Linked DNA regions of Homo sapiens: all the other regions are linked to region 3. Evidence: promoter capture Hi-C in 16 types of primary human blood cells and fetal thymus (Javierre and others, 2016). All regions are on one chromosome and are shown on one strand. The core of a region is centred on a gene start or on the middle of the fragment in contact, and the rest is flanking DNA. Distances in the headings are between cores, read along the strand shown. Region 1 overlaps DARS2 (aspartyl-tRNA synthetase 2, mitochondrial). Region 2 overlaps BLZF1 (basic leucine zipper nuclear factor 1). Region 3 holds the start of PRRC2C (proline rich coiled-coil 2C). Region 4 overlaps RC3H1 (ring finger and CCCH-type domains 1). Region 5 overlaps RC3H1 (ring finger and CCCH-type domains 1). Region 6 overlaps ZBTB37 (zinc finger and BTB domain containing 37). Region 7 holds the start of KLHL20 (kelch like family member 20).

The links. Contacts are between HindIII fragments. The CHiCAGO score rates a contact against its expected background, and 5 or more counts as called.
Region 1: a fragment that was not itself captured here is called in contact with the fragment with the promoter of PRRC2C in region 3 in 1 of 17 cell types (fetal thymus); the score reaches 5.7 in fetal thymus.
Region 2: a contact is called between a fragment that was not itself captured here and the fragment with the promoter of PRRC2C in region 3, in 1 of 17 cell types (non-activated CD4 T cells). The highest score is 5.4, in non-activated CD4 T cells.
Region 4: a fragment that was not itself captured here is called in contact with the fragment with the promoter of PRRC2C in region 3 in 1 of 17 cell types (monocytes); the score reaches 6.6 in monocytes.
Region 5: a fragment that was not itself captured here is called in contact with the fragment with the promoter of PRRC2C in region 3 in 2 of 17 cell types (fetal thymus and activated CD4 T cells); the score reaches 6.1 in fetal thymus.
Region 6: a fragment that was not itself captured here is called in contact with the fragment with the promoter of PRRC2C in region 3 in 3 of 17 cell types (fetal thymus, naive CD4 T cells and activated CD4 T cells); the score reaches 15.9 in fetal thymus.
Region 7: the fragment with the promoter of KLHL20 here is called in contact with the fragment with the promoter of PRRC2C in region 3 in 1 of 17 cell types (naive CD4 T cells); the score reaches 6.1 in naive CD4 T cells.

Annotation. Positions count from the first base shown.
Region 1 is chr1:173,827,601-173,830,300 of GRCh38, forward strand. DARS2 (aspartyl-tRNA synthetase 2, mitochondrial) reads left to right here. Exons shown (of 17, transcript NM_018122.5): 3 at 733-799. Among named protein-coding and RNA genes, the nearest start is that of CENPL, 4.1 kb to the left of the region's middle. The HindIII fragment of the contact is 914 bases long and covers 830-1,743 here.
Region 2 is chr1:169,372,242-169,374,968 of GRCh38, forward strand. All of the region lies in intron 2 of BLZF1 (basic leucine zipper nuclear factor 1), which reads left to right. Among named protein-coding and RNA genes, the nearest start is that of BLZF1, 5.4 kb to the left of the region's middle. The HindIII fragment of the contact is 3,501 bases long and covers 1-2,727 here.
Region 3 is chr1:171,484,035-171,486,836 of GRCh38, forward strand. PRRC2C (proline rich coiled-coil 2C) reads left to right here and starts at 1,496. Exons shown (of 35, transcript NM_001387844.1): 1 at 1,496-1,701. RefSeq lists enhancers at 1,085-1,394, 1,301-2,049. The HindIII fragment of the contact is 3,004 bases long and covers 1,302-2,802 here.
Region 4 is chr1:173,998,680-174,001,379 of GRCh38, forward strand. The region is part of intron 1 of RC3H1 (ring finger and CCCH-type domains 1); the gene reads right to left. Among named protein-coding and RNA genes, the nearest start is that of RC3H1, 22 kb to the right of the region's middle. The HindIII fragment of the contact is 4,144 bases long and covers 1-2,700 here.
Region 5 is chr1:174,016,896-174,019,671 of GRCh38, forward strand. The region is part of intron 1 of RC3H1 (ring finger and CCCH-type domains 1); the gene reads right to left. Among named protein-coding and RNA genes, the nearest start is that of RC3H1, 4.1 kb to the right of the region's middle. The HindIII fragment of the contact is 2,618 bases long and covers 18-2,635 here.
Region 6 is chr1:173,868,468-173,871,503 of GRCh38, forward strand. It overlaps ZBTB37 (zinc finger and BTB domain containing 37), which reads left to right. Exons shown (of 5, transcript NM_001122770.3): 2 at 458-653; 3 at 1,733-2,681. The coding sequence starts at 1,759. It also overlaps a transcript of GAS5 not described here. Among named protein-coding and RNA genes, the nearest start is that of ZBTB37, 1.6 kb to the left of the region's middle. RefSeq lists a silencer at 1-357 and enhancers at 1-1,191, 1,706-1,805. The HindIII fragment of the contact is 544 bases long and covers 1,337-1,880 here.
Region 7 is chr1:173,713,730-173,716,711 of GRCh38, forward strand. KLHL20 (kelch like family member 20) reads left to right here and starts at 1,252. Exons shown (of 12, transcript NM_014458.4): 1 at 1,252-1,349; 2 at 2,274-2,337. The coding sequence starts at 2,315. It also overlaps a transcript of ANKRD45 not described here. RefSeq lists enhancers at 1,156-1,345, 1,426-1,795. The HindIII fragment of the contact is 9,904 bases long and covers 1-2,982 here.

The sequences.
Region 1 (2,700 bases), core at 37-2,536, 2.3 Mb after region 3:
ACTCTGGGCAACAGAACGAGACTCCGTCTCAGGAAAAAAAAAAAAGTTTGTCCCAAGTAGGTGGATATTTTTCCCATAAGTTTAGTGACTGTTTCCTGAACCCAAATCTGAAGAGGGTTTCTGTACCTGTTCCTGATGCTGAGGATAGTATGAGAAATAGAGGTTGGATGTTAAAATGTTGGCATTTCTGGGACCTTTTGATGATTCATAGAGGTATTAAATTAGTAGTTGGAACTCTTCCAGAAAATGTTAGATTGTATCTTTTTTTAGAAAAAGACTATATTGCTATATTTCAAAAATGATCCATCAGATGTTTCTATTATGCTAAAATACTATCTTTGGATTTTACTATATGCAAAGTTTCCAAATTTAATAAAATTTTCTTAAAAGGACTTAAGCCAATGAAATTTCTTTTAATTGTTCATCTATAATAATTTTTCATTAATAAGCCATCTGTATAAGATTAATATACCAGGTAAGTAGACAATAAAAATTGAAACTGAAATAAAAAACAATCTTTTTTTTGGCAATGAGCTACATAGATAACAATTGCATGAATGTAACTAATGAAGGTACATAATTATCATAAAAAACATGAAAAATTATAATTATCATAAAAAAGAAACATGAAAAATTGCATGGATTTTTGTTTGCTTTTTATTTTGTATGCTTCAACTTTGGACTTAGAGATTTTATCTTAAAATGTTTCTTTTCCCCCCCCCCATTAATCAGGCAAAACACATTCTTGGTCCTAAGAGATTTCGATGGGCTTGTTCAAGTTATCATTCCCCAGGATGAGGTAATAGAAAATTTCCTGTTATTATCTAAAAGCTTCTTTGATGCTATTGCTGGGGTAAGCTAAGTAGTTAGATGAATATGTTAGAGGTTTTAAATTCAGAAGTTTATTGTTAATGAAAACTGAAAAATATAAGCAATGTTAAGACATAGCAAAAAGACCAGTGACCCAGTAGAATTAGGAACCCAGGATACGAACAAAAAATTTAGAGGAAAAAAATATATAAATGGCTTGTAGACATAATGAAAGTATGCCCAGCCTCACTCATAGGTAGAGAAATGTGAATTGAAACTGCATGTAATTGTCATTTTTAACACATTAGATTGACAACACACTGTGTTTGGGAAAGCAGGTGCTCAATACCTGGAGGGAGTACAAATTGGCACTAGCTGAAGGGAGAGCAATTTGGCAATATCAAAACTATAAATGCATATATCCTTTGAGCCATTAATTTCACTTCTGGTAAATTATCTTATATCTAGACTTATACAGATATAAAATGACATATGTACAAGGATATTCATTTCAGGATTCTTTTTAACGGAAAAAAATTGGGAACCACCCAGATGTCCTCCAATAAGAGACTGGCTTAAAAAATAATGTATATTCTTACAATACAATACTCTACTCAGCCGTACAAAAAAGAATGAAGAAGTTCTATTCTAATAGGGAAAAAAAAATCCAAGGAATACTGTTAAGTGAAGAACCCTGTATTCTTGAGTATACAAAAGAGCAGCTGTTAAACTCCAGCACTCTAAGTGCTGTCATCTGTATAAAAACTGGGGGAAGGATGCAGAATATACATTCAGTGTGTGTGTGTGTGTGTGTGTGTGTATTTGCTTGTATATATGTTAGGAAATGTCTCTGGAAGGATACCTAAGTATCTGGTAACATTAGGTGCTGCTGGGGGAAGGAACTGAGGGCGTTGAAAACAAGGATAGGAGGGAAGCTTTTTACTATATCTTTTTGTACCCCTTGAATTTGAAGCCATGTGACGGTATTACTGCTCAAAAAAGTATTTAATTTAATTACCATTGAAATTAGATAAAATATGACAGAGTGATATTCTGAAAAAAAAATTTTTTTAATTAAAAAATTCAAGGCCAGGCATGGTGGCTCACACCTGTAATCCCAGCACTCTGGGAGGCCGAGGCCAGCAGATTGAGTACAGGAGTTTGAGACCAGCCTGGGCAACAGTGAAACCTCGTCTCTACTAAAATACAAAAAATTGGCCAGGTGCGGTGGCTCACTCCTGTAATCCCAGCACTTTTGGGAGGCTGAGGCAGGTGGATCTCGAGGTCAGGAGTTTAAGACCAGCCTGACCAACATGGTGAAACCCCGTCTCTACTAAAAATACAAAAATTTAGCCGGGTGTGGTGGCGGGCTCCTGTAACCCCAACTACTCAGGAGGCTGAGGCAAAAGAATCACTTGAACCCAGAGGCAGAGGTTGCAGTGGGCCGAGATCACGCCACTGTACTCCAGCCTAGGCAACAGAGCAAGACTCTATCTCAAAAAAATAATAATAATACAAAAAATTAGCTGGGTGTGGTGGCATGTGCCTGTAGTCCCAGCTACTTGGGAGGCTGAGTTGGGAGAATCACCTGAGCCCAGGAGGTTCAGGCTGAAGTGAGCCAAAATTGCACCACTGCACTCCAGAGTGCACACCAGAGTGATACCCTGTGTCAAAAAAAAAAATTAAAATTAAAGAATTAGATAAAATAAAGAACTTCCATCATACTTACTGGGCAAAGTTGGTTTCTATTGCAATTTTTACTAACGCTTGTATGCCTAAGAAAAATATTATTTATTCAGCTCTTAAGTTTTGAAATAAATAAAGAGCAATGAATTATCTTTTAGGGATCAACATCCAGAGATGAGTATAGCTAACCCTGGAGAACTCCTT
Region 2 (2,727 bases), core at 6-2,505, 2.1 Mb before region 3:
ACAATCCCTAATTTGTTTAACTGTATCATAGCTGAATTTGTATATGTTCTGGAAAGTCTTTCAGACTATAACCAAGTTAGGAATTAATGATTTAGGGTAGAGGAAAAAAAATAAAGCAGTTTTTAAATGGGTTAGTTTTTGGATGTTAAAAATGAAACACTCTAGGTAGTGTATTAACAGACTAATGAGCTTCAGTAAGCATTTATTCATTTTCTCTGTGACAAGGACCATTTTATTAGTTCATGACACAAAGATTAGGAGGCGGTCCATACCCTGAAGAGCTCCCAACAGTCTAGTCTACAAGAGAAACAAATTATTTTTAAAATATATACTACCATGTTTGCATTACTCTGAAAGCACCAAGGGATGGGAGGAGGATGAGGTTAAGTGCTTTGTCCAAGGTCACACAATACATGGCAGTAGGGACTTAAGTTATTTTAACTCAGGCTCTAGTGAGTTAGATTTCTTTTCACTACCCCATTCTGCTGACTTAGAGTACCTCTCATCATAGATTGAAGTTTTATGAATAAAAGAGAAATATTTGTTCAATGACAGACAATAAATTTTTTTTTGCCTCAATATTCTAGAGCAAGGGTTGGCAAATTGTGGCCCTCAGCCTCCTGAGAATATCTGCAATCAGTTTGATAATAGTGGACATTAACACTATTTAAGCCAAACATTATCCTGAATTAAAAAAAAATCTGTTCTTCCCATTATTAGACCTATGTTATCAAAAAATTGTTTTCAATTATTGTTGTTATAGTTTGAATTTCATCAATAAATTTTTTTTCTCTTATTAAATACTTACATGGTATCCTCAATTTTACCTTTTGGTTCACAAAGCCTAAAATATTTACTCTCTGGTCCTTTACAGAAAAAGTTTGCCAGCTCCCATCCTAGAATGTTAGACTAGTGACCTTCTTTGTTCTTTCCCTACATTTCACCAATCCTGGTAGGCAATACGAATGAGCAAACCTTAGATATGTTTTAATTCATTGATAATTGATCACAGGTGGAAGTAATGATGATGAATAATTTAAGGATTGTTTTGTTGGTTCCCTTCAAATAGTGGGGAAGAATAAGGATTGGTGTTTTTCTTGACTTAAGCGTTACTCATAATTATGGAGCTGTTACCATAGGTCCTTGTCTTCCCAATTGAGAGAAGGTAATTATTCGTAAATGTGTCCTGGATTGTGCCTACTGCATATGTAATAAAGGTTTCTAGGTATGTCACAAGGAAAAATCGAATTACGAAAGTTACCAGGTGAGAAAATGTTAAGCCCTGGCTCTTACGGCCTGTTTACCTATGCACATTAGCTAGAATCATAGTTATTACTGAGCGGGAGCTCTCACGTAATATATAATACAACTTTGATATTCATAAATGCTTGAGTAAGTAGAACAGTTTAAATAAAGTTAAGAGTAAATTGGGGTGGAAACAAGTTGGTTGAACTTCTTGATTTTCCAACAAGGTATTTTGTTCAAAAAGAGATTTCTGTTAAATACCTATTAATGGTTCTTTGCCTTTTAAATTTAACTTTAATCATTTTGTAATTTGTTCTTGAATCTCTGTTACTTAAAATTCCAACTCAAAAATGTTACAGCTTGCCTAGAAATTTTATTTGACCATAATGGAAGTATCACACCTGTTTTTTATTTCCTCAGCCTCAGTGGGCCTGAACCATGGCTGTAGTGCGTGTTTTTATTGTTGATGGTTTTTATTAATTTATAGTTAATACATGATTCTGTGTTACTTCTTAAATGCCAGAATGTCTTATTGACAAGATTAGACAAGTTAGTTAAGTTTAGACAAACTTAAAATCAGATTTTAAGAATACAGGTAGCTGGGTGTGATGGCTCACATCTGTAATCCAAGCACTTTGGGAGGCTGAGGCCAGAGAATTGCTTGAGCCTAGGATTTCAAGACCATTCTGGACAACATGATGAAACCCTGTCTCTACAAAAAAAAAAAAAAATACAAAAAAAATACAAAAAATTATTTGGTCATGGTGGCACATGCCTGTAGTCCCATCTACTTGGGAGGCTGAGGTGGGAGGATCACCTGAGCCCAGGAAGTCAAGGCTGCAGTAAGCTGTTTTTAAATGATTCAGTGGAAGTTCTCCTTGTCAGTGCTACCATGCTTTGTTTTAACTAATTTACCAAACCCAGCATGTTAGGCCTTTATTTCACTTTCTGAAGTATTCCTTTGTTTATCTTTTTAAAAGTAGAGTCAATCCCAAGGCCCAAGGGGTGTTTAAACTTAGTTTACATTTCATATGGAAATGACACGATTTTATTCTAATGTAAAATGTTTTGTAAAATAGAACACATTAATTATACCTCAGCTATGTTTCCACCTCCTGTCTAATTAACATAACTCGAGGTTCCCAGAACATTTCTACATGGGAAAAATTTGAAAAAAGTAAATCTGTTACTTGAATAAATAGTCCTATAGTCTAGCAATATAACTTTAAGATTTACATAACAGAATGAAAGTCAGAATTGTATTTTATGGCATTAAATAAATTAACTTTATTTCTGTCTATATCAACATCCAAAGTTTATTAGGAATTTATTTAAAGAATAATAAAAGCAATAGGACCTAACATTTAATGAGTGCTTACTGTGTCAAATACCATTCTAAACAGTTTACATGTATTCTTATTTATTTTTAAGTACAATATAAATCATAGGTATTGAGCATGCAAATAAATAAATAGTAAGGAT
Region 3 (2,802 bases), core at 246-2,745:
CCCAGTCAACATAGCAAGACCTCGTCTCTACTGGCAAAAAAAAAAAAAAAAAAAAAAAAAAGCCAGGTTTTGTGGCAAGCACCTGTAGTCCCACCTACCTGGGAGGCTGAGACAGGTGGATTGCTTGAGCCTGGGAGGTTGAGGCTTCAGTGACCTGTGATTATGCCACTACACTCCAGCCTGGGCAGCAAAGTGAGACCCTGCCTCCAAAAAAACAAAGAAAGATGTTTCTGTGACCAGGACACTATAGACCAGATCCTAGAAGGTTGTAGAAATTCACTAAAGTAATGCTTCCTTGTCCTCTTGTGGATGATCAGTAGGCTTTCCCCTGGCAATGACCCTATATCAATAAAAAAACTTTTTCTTTTCTTCTTTTCTATTTTTTCGAGAAAGAGTCTCGCTGCAGCCTCAACCTCCTGTGCTCAAGTGATCCTTTTGCCTCCAGCCTCCCAGGTAGCTAGGACTATAAGCATGTGCCACTATGCCTAGCTAGCTTTTTTTCTTTTTAATTTTTTTGCAGAGGTAGGGTCTCACTATGTTGCCCAGATTGGTCTTGAACTCCTGGTCTCAAGCAATCCTTTTGCCTTGACCTACCAAAGTATTAGTATTACAGGCATGAGCCACCAAGCAAGTCCAGACTTTTCTACTTCAAATTAATATTAGTGGGGAGGGAGGTGTTCATAATTTACCTCTCTTTATTATTTCATTTATTCTAACATTGCTACAGTGACAATTCCATGGACATACACCAGCTACTGGCGGGGAAGATCGTTCAGACCAGAAGTGGTAAGAAATCCTTGAATTTTAAATATGTCATAGGTAGTTCACAAAGAGGACAAAAGATACCATTTACTAAACATTCGCCATCTGTTCTGACATAATATTATCATCATTGTAGTCTCCCACTTCCAGATACACTCATCTGCCTATGTTACACTTGCCTAGTAAAAGCCAGCATGGGTGAATCTTACTATTCAACGGAGCTGAACACTGTGATGGAGAGATCATATAAATAAACTGAATGGCTTATCTCACATCCATAATTAGAAACTTAAAAAGTGCTCTCAGCAGCCCATGCTACTCTGTTCCTCACACTAGTTTTACTTTCACTCTCTGTGATAACTTTTCAATACACCAAGACTTCTCAGCTTGCCCCAAATTCACTGAGACATACTGGCGAACTGCTGGTTCAACCATTTACACATCCACCCACCAGACATAAGAGTGCTCATTTCACTGAGGCTTATTATCAACTTGTAAACGTGGTCAATTCAAGACTTCTTAGAAAGGTCTCAGGTCCAAGCTTTGTCCTGAAAAGATAATTCTGATTGCAGAAACTCCCTCCGTCCAGCAGGAAGCGCCAGCACCCTCTGTCGGGGTTGGGCCGCCACGGAGGCTTCACGTGATCCGGCCGTCTCTGCGCAGGAGTGTGGTCTTGCGGAGATTTGACCTACGTACTTAGCGTCATGACGTAGTACGTAGGGGCTGGCTAGCCGCCATCTTGCTTCTTTTTCTCGCTCGCTCGCTCCCCCTCGGAAAGCTGCGAAAGTGCTTTGGCGGTTTGTCCATCCGCAGCTTCGGCTTTTCCAGTCTGGTGGCCCTTCCGGCCACCCCTTTAACCCCAGCTTTCCCTCCCCCTTCTTTCGATCAGAGATCGGCGGAGACCCTCGAAGTGCGCAAACTTGACACTCACCCTGACCGGTAAGGAAAGCGAGGGTGTGGGGGCCGCGATCAAAGAGGGCCCCATCGGGAACGGCCAGAGTGCGGCCTGGGGCGTGGGAGCGCACCCAGACCCTGGCGCCCGGAGGCTAGGGGGCCGCGTGGAGAGGGCCTTGGGTCCGGGCATTTCCCTTCTGTTTGGTTACCATCATCTCTGTGTCTGGGGAAGTCGGCCTCCAGCTTGGGGAGCGGGAAACCGGAGTCAGACCCGCCCCATGTGGTCTGCAGCGGGAGTTCTGGACCGGTCTGTCTTGCTCCCACCTAGACCCCAGTCCTGGCCCTGCGAGGGGATTACGCATGTTGCCGGGTAAGCGAAGGGGGTTTCCGTCTTCCTGGACTGGCGGACGTGAAGTCTTTTTTTTTTTTTTTTTTTTTTAGTGTCGGGTATGCGTTTCCCCAAACAACTGAAGGACTCAGCCGGGGCTTTCACTGTCTACCTCTTCCTGTGTAGTGAGGGTGGGACTTGCAATGAGCAATGTATGGGAGGGTCTGGTTTAAAGACCTGGTTAGATGAGAGGCTCTTCGGGGAATCAAGACCAACCCTACTTCCGCTAGGGAAGTGCTGCCCAACTCCGGAGGAGGATTTGGGTAGTCTTTTCACACTCTAGGCCGCTCCATCCTCTAACTTGCGTGGTGAATCTCGGTAGCTCCCTGTCTTTGAGATAGCGTTGATATTGGTGGTGTCAGGGTAAAGGCCCCGTTTTAGGACTGAAGAAAAGGGCATGGGGCCACTATAGAGACATTGATAGAGTCTTCCTTCCTTTGCATGAGAGGAGTACCTTTAATTTAAAGGGATGTATGTGTGTTTTGACATTATTTGGGATCTTTTGAGGGTCTGACATGCCTGATGTTTGCTGGCTTATAAAGCTACCTGGATTTCCGCATTGGCTGGTTTTCAGCCTGGGTTCATAGATTCATACCTCGTTAGAGTACTTAGAATTGTACAGTAGGCGGCTCTGCTGTAAGATTTTCATTTGGAATGCACCAGAAGAATCGGAGGATTTTTTGATTGTTGAGTACTTAATAGCTTACTCCTGCAAATAAAAATAATAGGGTGATACTAAGCACCTACCAAGCCTAACC
Region 4 (2,700 bases), core at 101-2,600, 2.5 Mb after region 3:
TTCTGGTTAAGAACCACCACTTTCTTAAATCTCTAAACTTTTATCACTAATATTACCATTTGACTTTACTCAGGTTTTTTTTCTTAACAAAGAAATAAAGATCTTATTATCAAAATAAAAAAATTATTTCAGCTAGGTGCTGTGGTTCACGCCTGCAATCTCAGCACTTTTGGGTGGCTGAGGTGGGAGGATCACTTGAGACCAGGAGTTTGAGATCAACCTGGCCAAAAAGGCAAGACCTTGTCTCTATAAGCAAAATAAAAAATGAGCAGAGTGTGGTGGCACGTACTTGTAGTCCCAGCTACTCAGGAGGCTGAGGTGGGAGGTATGCTTGATCCCAGGAGTTCAAGGTTTCAGTGAGCTATGACCACACCACTGCACTGCAGCCTGGGCAACACAGAGAAACCCCATCTCTAAAAAAAAAAACTGTTGGGCGTGGTGGCTCACACCTGTAATCCCAGGACTTTGGGAGGCTGAGGTTGGCAGATCACCTGAGGTCAGGAGTTTGAGACCAGCTTGACCAACATAGAGAAACCCTGTCTCTACTAAAAATACAAAAATTAGCAGGCACATGCCTGTAATCCCAGCTACTCGCGAGGCCAAGGCAGGAGAATCACTTGAACCTGGGAGGCAGAGGTTGCGGTGAGCCGAGATCGTGCCATTGCACTCCAGCCTGGGCAATGAGAGCAAAACTCCACCAAAAAAAAAAAAAAGAGAGAGAGAGAAAGAAAGATATGAATTATAAACAACAAGGCTACTTGCTTGGGTCCACCAGCTAAGTAACTAGTTTGTAGATACCAAACTCCAAGTCTTACAGCTCCCTTAGCTGTTAAATTCAAATGTATGCCTCTGCAAAATAACAAATAACTACATATTGTGAGCATCGATGTTTAAGTATGATTAAAACATTGTCAATGAGCAACTACAGACAAAATTGTGATGACATGATGCATCTGGAAAGACGTAGAACAGCTTTGTTTTCTGAAAATCAATCATGTGTCAGTCACTGTGCTAGGTGTTTTCAGATGTTTCTCTTATTTAAATATCCACAATGTGGACTACCACCAATAACCAACATTTGTGAAGCAAAAACTAGGATATTATACTTTCAGTGCTCTATATACAGTATCTAATTAATGTTCACAGTAACACTGTAATGTAGTTATTATGCCCATTTTAAAGATAAGGAAACCAAAGTACCCAAGTCACAAAGCTAGAAAGTGGCACGACTAAGACTCAAACTCAGGACAGCCAAACTCCCAGGCTGGTACTTTGAAACTCTATAATTTGTGCCACCACACGAATAAAAGTTTATAGTAATTATGGCAAGGGAGCTCTTGGGAGTGACAGAAATGCCTTAAAATTGTATGGTAGTAATGGTTGCACAACTCTGTAAATTTACTAAAAATCATTTGTGTATTTAAAATAAGTGAATTCTATGGTATGTAAATTATACTTCAATAAAGCTGTTAAAATAGTCATTAAGGGCTTTTTAATAGTCTTAGTTTTCAAAAATGTTAAGTAATAATGTAGAAACATAGAAACTATTCGAATCTGTTCTATGAGCACAGCAATAGCCCTATTAAATAGCTAAATTACATTGCTGTGAAGATTTCATTTAAACATATGACACATTTATTACCATCTCCTTTATTATAGGTTCATTTTATATGTTCCTGATTTAGAGAGAGAAAAATGGAAATTAAAATTCAACTATCTACTCTGAGCCAGGCACTCCTCTGAGGCATTACTATGCCCATTTTACAGAAGATAACTTGAGGTTTGGCGGCATTAAGTAACGGCCCCAAATCAATAAACTGTTGAGCTGGGATTAACACCAGGTCTTACATATCTGAAATATAAGTTGGCCTGTGAAAAATGTTTTTATCAAACAAAACCACACTGTCTGTAAGAAGAAAATCTTGGCTCTCTTCCCACTATGCCCGATGAGATGAGATTTTAACTCATTATTCTTGACCTTAACTTAATTTTTCATTTCTCTGGAACATTTCCATAGCAACCAGCATGTAGGGCCACATCAGAGAAGAGAAAATGTTTCACTGCCTTGAAAAATGAAGCTAGAAGCAGGAGATAAAAACACAAAGAAGAAAACTAATGAAGGCCTATTATAACACTTAATTTTTTAATCCTCAGCAGAGCATCAACTAATTTACAGTGGAAATAGAGTCTAAAATTTGAGGCTCAAGGTTTTTCCAGCAATAATATCTTGTGAACAAAGACCCAGTTTTGATTGTAAAAATACATCTTCCCAAAATGTATGGACTGAATTGTAACCCTATATATACAAAATCCTGGATGTAAATAATTTAATATGATTATGTTAGTACAAATGGATAAATACTTGGGACAGGCATAAAGAGAAGGGCTTCTGAGTTAGAGGGAAAAAATAGCTTGAAAAATAGAACTTGATAAAGAAAGGTGGAGGAAAGTTCAAGGGGTTAATTCAGGTTGCTTACTTTTTCAGCGTTCAGAGGCAAAAAGAAAAATTTCTATCTCCAACCTAATACCAGATTGAGGAGAAGTAGTAAGAAAGGACAAAATCATTCATGGAGAAGCCGCCTGACCTGAGTTTGAAACAGAGTGCCTGAGAAAGTAAGACAGTCTTTAACTTTACGTATGTAGTTTGAATCTCCAGGTTCAAGTTATGCATTATATACAAATGTGCTACACTAAAGAGGG
Region 5 (2,776 bases), core at 77-2,576, 2.5 Mb after region 3:
TTAAAACAATCCAAAAAAGCTTACTAAACAACTGCCTTTGTAACACTGTTCATGTTTTTAGAGGTGATCAGGTATAGGGCCAAGATCAAGGTTTCTAACACTTATTCAACAAGGGATTAAAAGCAGAGTGCCACGCAAATCAAAACTCTAAATATTCTCAAAGATTAGCTGAATAAAATAGTCATAAAGTTAGATTCACAGGGATCAAAGAGCTTCAAATTCTAAAAATCGTTTCCCAGTGTAACTTCAAATAAATCCTTTGTGAATATTCCTAGTTTCTTCTATACATTAAGAAAACCTAAAAGGCAAACAAGTTCTAGATAGGAGACCAAGTATTAGTTGTTCACATTTGTATAGAACATTAAATTTTAGTTCTTATAACCCAATGAAGAAATACAAATGAGTCTAAGAGTTTGAGCAAAACCCTCTGGGGTGATCAAAACAAAACTGCAAACTTCTATGAGTCTCAACTTTTCTTCCATAAAGAGTCCCTGGCAGCATGTCTACTGTACTTAGAGAAGCATGCAAAGAATTAGGTGGTTTTTTATTCCTAACAATCACATCCCAAAGTTTTTTCTGCAATTTCAATTGTACAGAGTACTCTTCCTCGATGTTGGCTCAAATTAGAGACAGAAAGCAGAATGGCGTTTGCTAGGGATTAGGGAAGAGGGGAATACAGAGTAACTGCTTAATGGGTACAGTGTTTCCTTTTGGGGTAATGAACACATTCTGGAATTAGAGCTGGTGGTTGAACAACATTGTGAATGTATAAAGTGCCACCTAAACTGTTTACTTTAAAATGGTTAATGTTATGTGACTTAACCTCAATAAAAAAAATTATGTTAATCTGTAGATAAAACTGACCCCTTTAGAACTCTTTTCTTGCTCAAAAAAAAAAAAAAAAAAAAAAAAAAACTGCTACCATGTTCAAATGCTATTTAGATCTTGGAAATTTTTTAGATAAAATGCACTTATAAGTTAAATTATTACCACATGTGCACAGTAATAATCAGTGAAGGTATACCAGTGTCAGTTTAAAACATTGTTATGCCTGTAATCTCAGCACTTTGGGAGGCAGAAGTGGGAGGATCACCTTGCTCCCAGGAGTTTGAGACCACCCTGGGCAACACAGCAAAATGCTATCTCTATAAAAATAATAAAAATTAAAAAAAGTAGCCAGGTAAGGCGGGAATAACACTTAAACCAAGGAGTTTGAGGCTGAAGTGAGCTATGATAATGCCACTGCACTCCAGCCTGGGTGACAGACCATGAGTGACTCTGTCATTCATTCATAATATATACATACAGCATTGCTAAAATGCTTGATAACTGTCAAAAGAATATTGCTCTGACATACATCTGCAAATAAGTAAGGTGACTTTAAATTTGAGGAAAATTCTTTCCCCAAGCCTCAATCAGGAAAACAATATAAACTAATAAGAAGTATCTAATAAACAAAAAGTAAACAAGAATATTATATAAGTAAACAGGCACAATCCTGACCAAAAATGGACAGAAATAAATATGCTAAAGTTAAGTGTCTGGGGGATGTAGGGCAACATTACTTCAGATTGGTAAATGTCACACTTCAAAAATAGAAGGAATCTACCTTAAGAAACTCTGTAGTAAGAAAACCTCCTTTGTATAAATGCCTGACAAAATTAATCTTTTATCATAACCTCTAAAGCTAGTCCAAATCCAGCCTAGATTCCAGAATTACACAAAAGAAAAAATCTTGGAGACGGTTCTGGGAAAAGGCTGACCAAAATCTGTGACTGTTTTGATACAGGCCAATCTGAGAATTTTAATCCCTCTGAACCCAATCCTGCAGAATACCTGAACCCTGAGCACAGACGGGGCCAAAGCTAAACCAGGTCAGAATACCCTGCCAAGGAACATCCTGATCTGAGGTGTTCACCAAACAGGGATCATTTATCAGTTTATTCTTCACTTTGTTGGATGCTGACCATTTTCAAGATATATGCAAGAGTGGACTGATTAGACCCATCAGAATCCATTTCAAGCCCTAAGATCTGGAGATGAAAAATACTGCAGAATTCTAAATTATCTATGGCTTAAAGAAAAAAAATTATAAATTAAGAACTTCAAATATTAGCTGACCCAACTTTAACATCATTGAATATCTTTAATTATTTAAAAAAATTTATAAAGTATTTCAAAGGCACAATTTAGTAATTGCCTATGTAACAAATTAACCATGAAAACAATTACAGCAGTATGATAAATCTGTCCTATGTAAACAGTATGAGTTTTTATATTTTATAGCATTCAGATATGCTAAAAACAAAAATTTAAGTGTTTCTTTTGTGATTCACATGAACAAATACTTTCTTGGTCTTACAAGTAGATATCTGACAGGATACAAATAATGATAATAGGGTAAGTTCACAGGCAAAAAAAGGAATCTGTCAACACAGAAGATGCTTCAAAGTTTAACTGTGACACATGTGGTAGTGGCAAAGAATCTAATTTGTGTCACAAGATCTGAGTCTGAGTAAGCTCTTTTACCTATTAATTATGTGATCTTTTTGCTGGTTACATAGCTACTCTTAGCTTCACATTCTTCATATGAAAAAATGAGGACAACAGAACTAATACTGCAGCATAATGAGGAAGCTTAAATATTTTTATTCATTCAACAAATATGTTCTGAAAGGCGTTGTGTACAAATTACCCTTTTTTATTTCTTCAAATAAATCAAGCATATATTAACTTTTAATATTACCAAGAAAATATAAATCTAATTCTTAAGCTC
Region 6 (3,036 bases), core at 359-2,858, 2.4 Mb after region 3:
GTCACCTCGCCCGCCCTCCGCCGCAGCGCGCTCCTGGGGCGCTCAGCTACTTTCCTTCACCCCGCCTCCAGGCACCGGGCGACCTTCCACCCCCTTGGCCCCCGGCCGGGCTGATCTGCCGGACCCGCCCCCTCGCGGGGCCCCTCCCTCAGGACCCCGGGAAGGGCGGCCCCCTCCCCCACCGCAGCCGGGACACACCCAGATACGCACACCCACCTCCTGGCAGCTCCCCGCCCGCCGCCGCCTGGAGCCGGTCCCTGGGCGCCGCCCCCTTCCTAGTTCTCACCTGAGCGCTGGCTCCCCCGCCCGACGCCTTGTCCCCATCTTCTCCGAAGTTCCTCAGTGACATTTTGCCCTTTAGCCAGTTCCCCTCTCCCCAGGCTTCCTAACGCAGAAGAAAGCTGCTCAAGTGCTGGAGTGGCCAACCCCATGCCGTTCCCAATTCTCCCTTTTACAGCTCTCACCCCTCCAGTGCCGACGGTAGCGAAAGACTTTCCTCCAGGGGCTTCCTCACTGGGGAATTGCCGGAAAGAGCAAACAAAAAAGGCGCTGGTGTAGGCTCCAAAATAAACACATCTGAATTCATGATGGCATCGACAGAGGCTCTTATTGGATTAAAAGTTTCAAAACAAACAATAACGCTTTGGAAAAAGGTCAGATTGGCTAAAGTTGATTGTTGAAAACAGTGTATACACTTCCCTATTTAATAAGTGTGTTGTTAATGCGGGGCAGTACTGTGAGCTTGGCAGAGTAAGTTCCTGAAGTTTCAGGTGTGGTGTAACTATGTAATATATAGATAAGTGAACGCACATTGGGCTTAAGTAAATGTCTTCCTGTTCGGATTTATACAAACTATTTTCAGTAGTTGAAACTGTACTTTCAACTATCTTGTATACAGCTTCAGGTTTAGTGTTTCAGCCATTTTTTAAAAATATTTTAATGGAAAAATGTTGGCATACTTGGTAAATGCTGTATTTTTTCATCGGATCTGGAGAACTAAGTTTCAGGATGGAAGTATTCATCACCACCTCGGAATTGCCAACTTCGAATTTGGCAGATTTACCCAGCTTTCCTAATTTTGACAACTGAACTTCACATTCTCTGCATCTTGGTTGAATCCTGGCACAGCTGTGGGATTTTTCCTAGAGTTTGCTTCACAGCCCTATAACCAAAGTCTTTTTGTGGGGGGGGCTCTGATTCTTAAGCTTAGAAATATTAGCCTACATTCATGTGGGATATTAGTCCTTTTATAAAATAATAAACATAATTCTTGCAGCAGGTAGTAAAATACTAAGAAGAGGGATATCAAGCTATGTAGAATTGCATTTATTCAGAAAGCTTTCCTCCTCCAGAGAAAAGTTGTAAAGTTATGAGATGTTATATTCAGTCTGCAAGTACCTTATAGTTAACACTTAAAAGTCCTTCCCCCTACCTTCTGTTGAACTTCTGTTTTGATGTTATATAACTTATTAGTAAGGAAAGCATGGTCATAACATGAATTTTTAGGAGTCTAAAGATCACTTTTTAGTTTTAACTATGTCCTCCTGTGAAACTTAAACTGAAAAACCTGTTGGTGATTCTGTTTCCACATCTAAATATAAGGAAGGTATTTCTTTTATCTGGAGATTTTGAAACTTTACCAGATAACTATGTTTAAATACTTTTGAAATGGAAACCATCCGGGAAGTAAAATTATAATTATTAATGAGAATATGGTTTCTTTTTTCAGCAGGGTTGAATGCACCCTCAGGCACGACCATGGAGAAAGGTGGGAACATACAATTGGAGATTCCTGACTTCAGCAACTCTGTCCTGAGCCATCTAAACCAGTTGCGCATGCAGGGCCGTCTCTGTGATATTGTGGTCAATGTGCAAGGACAAGCTTTTCGGGCTCACAAAGTGGTGCTGGCTGCCAGCTCCCCCTATTTCCGGGATCACATGTCCTTGAATGAGATGAGTACAGTCTCCATTTCAGTCATCAAGAACCCTACTGTTTTTGAACAGCTCCTTTCTTTCTGTTACACAGGGCGGATATGCCTGCAACTGGCAGATATCATCAGCTACCTAACAGCTGCCAGTTTTCTGCAAATGCAGCATATTATAGACAAATGTACACAGATCCTGGAGGGCATTCATTTCAAAATTAATGTGGCTGAGGTTGAAGCAGAATTAAGTCAAACAAGGACAAAGCATCAAGAGAGACCTCCAGAGTCTCACAGGGTTACACCAAATCTCAACCGCTCCCTTAGCCCACGACATAATACCCCAAAGGGAAACCGGCGAGGTCAGGTTAGTGCTGTGCTGGATATCAGAGAGCTAAGTCCTCCTGAGGAGTCCACCAGCCCTCAGATCATTGAACCAAGTTCTGATGTAGAGAGCCGGGAGCCCATTCTTCGGATCAACCGAGCAGGACAGTGGTATGTGGAGACAGGAGTGGCGGACCGTGGGGGTCGGAGTGATGATGAAGTTAGAGTTCTTGGAGCAGTACACATCAAAACTGAAAATCTGGAGGAGTGGCTTGGGCCTGAGAATCAGCCTTCTGGAGAAGATGGGAGTAGTGCAGAGGAAGTAACAGCCATGGTGATTGATACCACAGGCCATGGTTCTGTAGGACAGGAAAATTATACTTTAGGGTCTTCAGGAGCCAAGGTGGCTCGGCCAACAAGCAGTGAAGTTGACAGGTAGGTTTGGTTTGGTTTGGTTTTCCCATGTAATGGCTATTGTGTAGACATCACTAAAGTGTCCTCTGTAGTACAGAGAGCATTTTCCTTACCTGATTTTCTTGGTCAAAATAAGTTGATGATGGGGAAACTGGAGGTGTGCCAAAAGACTTGCATTCTTATTTTTTTAAACCAGGAAGCTCCATTCCTGAAGTATTCACAATGTTGTGAGAACTGTGGTAAAGTTAGACACTTCCGTGAATCAGAATAGCATCTGCAGCCACACTAGGATAGGATCAGTAATTGCCAGGGCTTCCTCGGGATTCGAGGCAGGGAGCCGATCATCAGCTGGGAACCTAGCAGCATTGCCCTTCCT
Region 7 (2,982 bases), core at 2-2,501, 2.2 Mb after region 3:
CCCTATGACTGCACCAGTCAGCAGCAAGCACCCATTGCCTAGCCACCCCTACCCCTTTCCCCAGACTACCTTTGAAAAGAAACCTAGCCCCCAAATGCTCCAGGAGGCCGATTTGAGTAATAATATAACTGATTTGAGTAATAATAAAACTTCTTCCATTTTTCCACTCGATGTTGTGTAAAACTCTTTCTCCATTGCAATCCCTATACCTTGATAAATCATCTGTATCTGGGCAGCAGGCAAGAAGAATCCACTGGGCCACTATATCTGGATCTAAAGGCCATGTATTTTCCACTACAAGCTAATTAACAAGAGGTATCCTTTCCCCTCAGAAACAACTGGACACACCTGTGTAGATTCTACATAAAGAACAGCTAAAGAAAATCTGGTTAATACTTAGCCTAGTATACTTACCAGGAAATCAGCAACAGTCTTTCTCTGATATTCCTGAAATTGTAATCCCCACCTTACACTTGTATCACTTGTTTTCTAAATATTAATATACGGTAAAAATCAGGTGGCTGTGTGCTATGGGAAAATCTGGAGGAAAAGATAATTTTAAAAATATACTTTTTTGGCTCTGCTTGCTACTGAAAAAAAATTTTTTTAAGAAAATATACTCTTCCCTCCTTAACATTAAAGTGAATCCACAGAAGATGTGTTTGGTGAAGTGTCTGGTGGTGAATACTAAGTAGAAAGGGCAGACTAACACAGCCTTAGAGCCTGGATAAAATCCTGGTGTCCTGAAAGTTTGACCGTGGGAAATCTGGAGGATAAGGTCTATCTCTGGTCTGTCTATCTAACTTCTGCACCTTGCACATAGTAGAGGCCTGACAGATACATGCCAACCCATGTGTGCATGCAATAATTCAATCCACAATTAGGAACATTGTGCCAAAAGGAGACCCACCAACTAAAAAGAAATACAAATTCTTAGCTTTCTGTGACTACCCTTTACTGCCTTTGCTGGCGAAAACAAAGAAGAAAAGAGGAGGCTTCAGTATTCAAATACTGCCAGTTCCGCAGTGAATTCTAAAAATGGTTACTCTTGGGATACAAGGAACCCCCACGAGGATAAACAACCTCTGAGGTTACCTGAATGCCCCAGCAAAGGGCACGACTACTTCCGGAGCCGCACCGGAACCCCTTGGCGGATTATGTGGGTTCCTGCGGGAACGATTTAAGAATAGGACTACTTCCTGCTTCTGGATATGGGCCGGTGAAGGGAAAGGAAATAGCTCTACGAGCGGCATCCTGCCTGCGTTAGCGGCGGTGGAGGAGGAGGCAGAGAGGAGTGGAGGGCGGAGTAGACGGAGGAGGCTGCTGCAGAGAAGAAAGTGTCAGAGCCGGTAAGTGAGCCAGTCACCTTAGAGCAGGGGACAGCGGACAGCGCCCCAGGGCTCGCTTCGCAGATATGTGGTCCCAAGTTGCTGAGCTGCCCCATGGGGTCAGGTCGGTCGCCTGTCAGTCGGCGCCGAGAAGAGACTGTTGGGGCGCTGGGGCCGGGCCTCGCGGAGCGCCAGAGTGCGCTCTCGCTGGCTGACAGCCTATCTCGGGAGCCAGAGGAGGCCCCGGGCTTTGTCCTGCCTGGTGGTGCTGGGGTTTCGCATCCTGGACAGCTTCCCCAGACAGTGTTTGGAATTCAGGGAAGGAAGAAAGTACGTGCGCCCCCATTTAACCCTCGGGACCTGGCGAAATCCTGCTACGTGGGTAGTGAACATTGTATCGGGGACTGAAGGAAATGCTTGTAAAGAGTGTTAGTCTGGAGCCATACTTTCCCTGCCCTGTTCAAGCTCCCTGGACTGTCGGAAGCGGAGTTGTTTGTAAAGGCAAATGCAGACGCCTCCTCCTCCTGTCACTTCGGGACAAGTTAACAATCTTCAGATTCGTTATTAAAGCCTCGTGTACCCTATGTGATCTATCAGGTTAGTACTGCTGTGGGTATCTGGTGCTTGTTCTGTAAATATACTTGATGTCGAGATCACAGTTAAATATCTCCAAGCACTTTTTGAAGAGAAACAAGACTGACCTAACAGTCGGGACTATTTAGCATACTTTCCCTCACCTTTACTTTAATCGTTTTAGCATGCAGAGTAAGGATGGTAATCTTAAATGTACTAGATTAAGTTATTGTGCATCTGCAGAAGGCCTGTGGTATAATAGGATATGAAACTCTTGATAACTGACGAAATGAGTGAAATGATTATATAAAGATTGTTACTGTAAAGATCAGAAATAGCTTTTATTAAGTTCCTGCTTTTCTGTTGTCTTAGGTTCGGCTTTAGAGTGTGGTGAAGGGTACTTTTCATGGTGCATGGAAGGAAAGCCAATGCGCAGGTAGGCATTTAGGAAGAAAACCTTTGGTTTCACTGATTAAAATTCAGCATGTAATAATTTAAATTTTTAAAAAAGAGTTTCAATCTTACTAAATTCTGCTTGGAACTAATGAGTCTTGTTCTACAATAAATCAAAAGTAATATTAAGAATTAATAGCTTTTTAATAGAATAAAATACAGAAGTTGTTTCTGAAAAGTGCTGTGGATTGTATGTAGTGCTAAACACTTAAATTTTCCTTTTTTCATGTTTTTTACAGTAAATAATCATTAAGTTCATTATGATACTATATGGATTTATTATAATCTTCAGTTCCCTATAAAATGTAGAGGATTCTGTTCCCATGTAAGAATCATAATTATTTATAATATACTGTACTGCATGCCTAATTATGGTTTTGGTTATTTCCTTGATGTTCAATCATACATTTGTTCTGTTAATTAAAATAGCTGCATTGTAGGGAAGATTGTATAAGGACTAAAATAGGTATTAGACATAATAACTTAGTCCATAGAAAAATAGAACAATGTCTGGGAAAATATAGACAATAAATAGGCCCTCCCAACCCTAGAATTTAATAATGTTTTTTCTCATTTTGTTCTAACAAATGAGACTAGAATCTTTATGATACAAAATCATCCCAGTTCT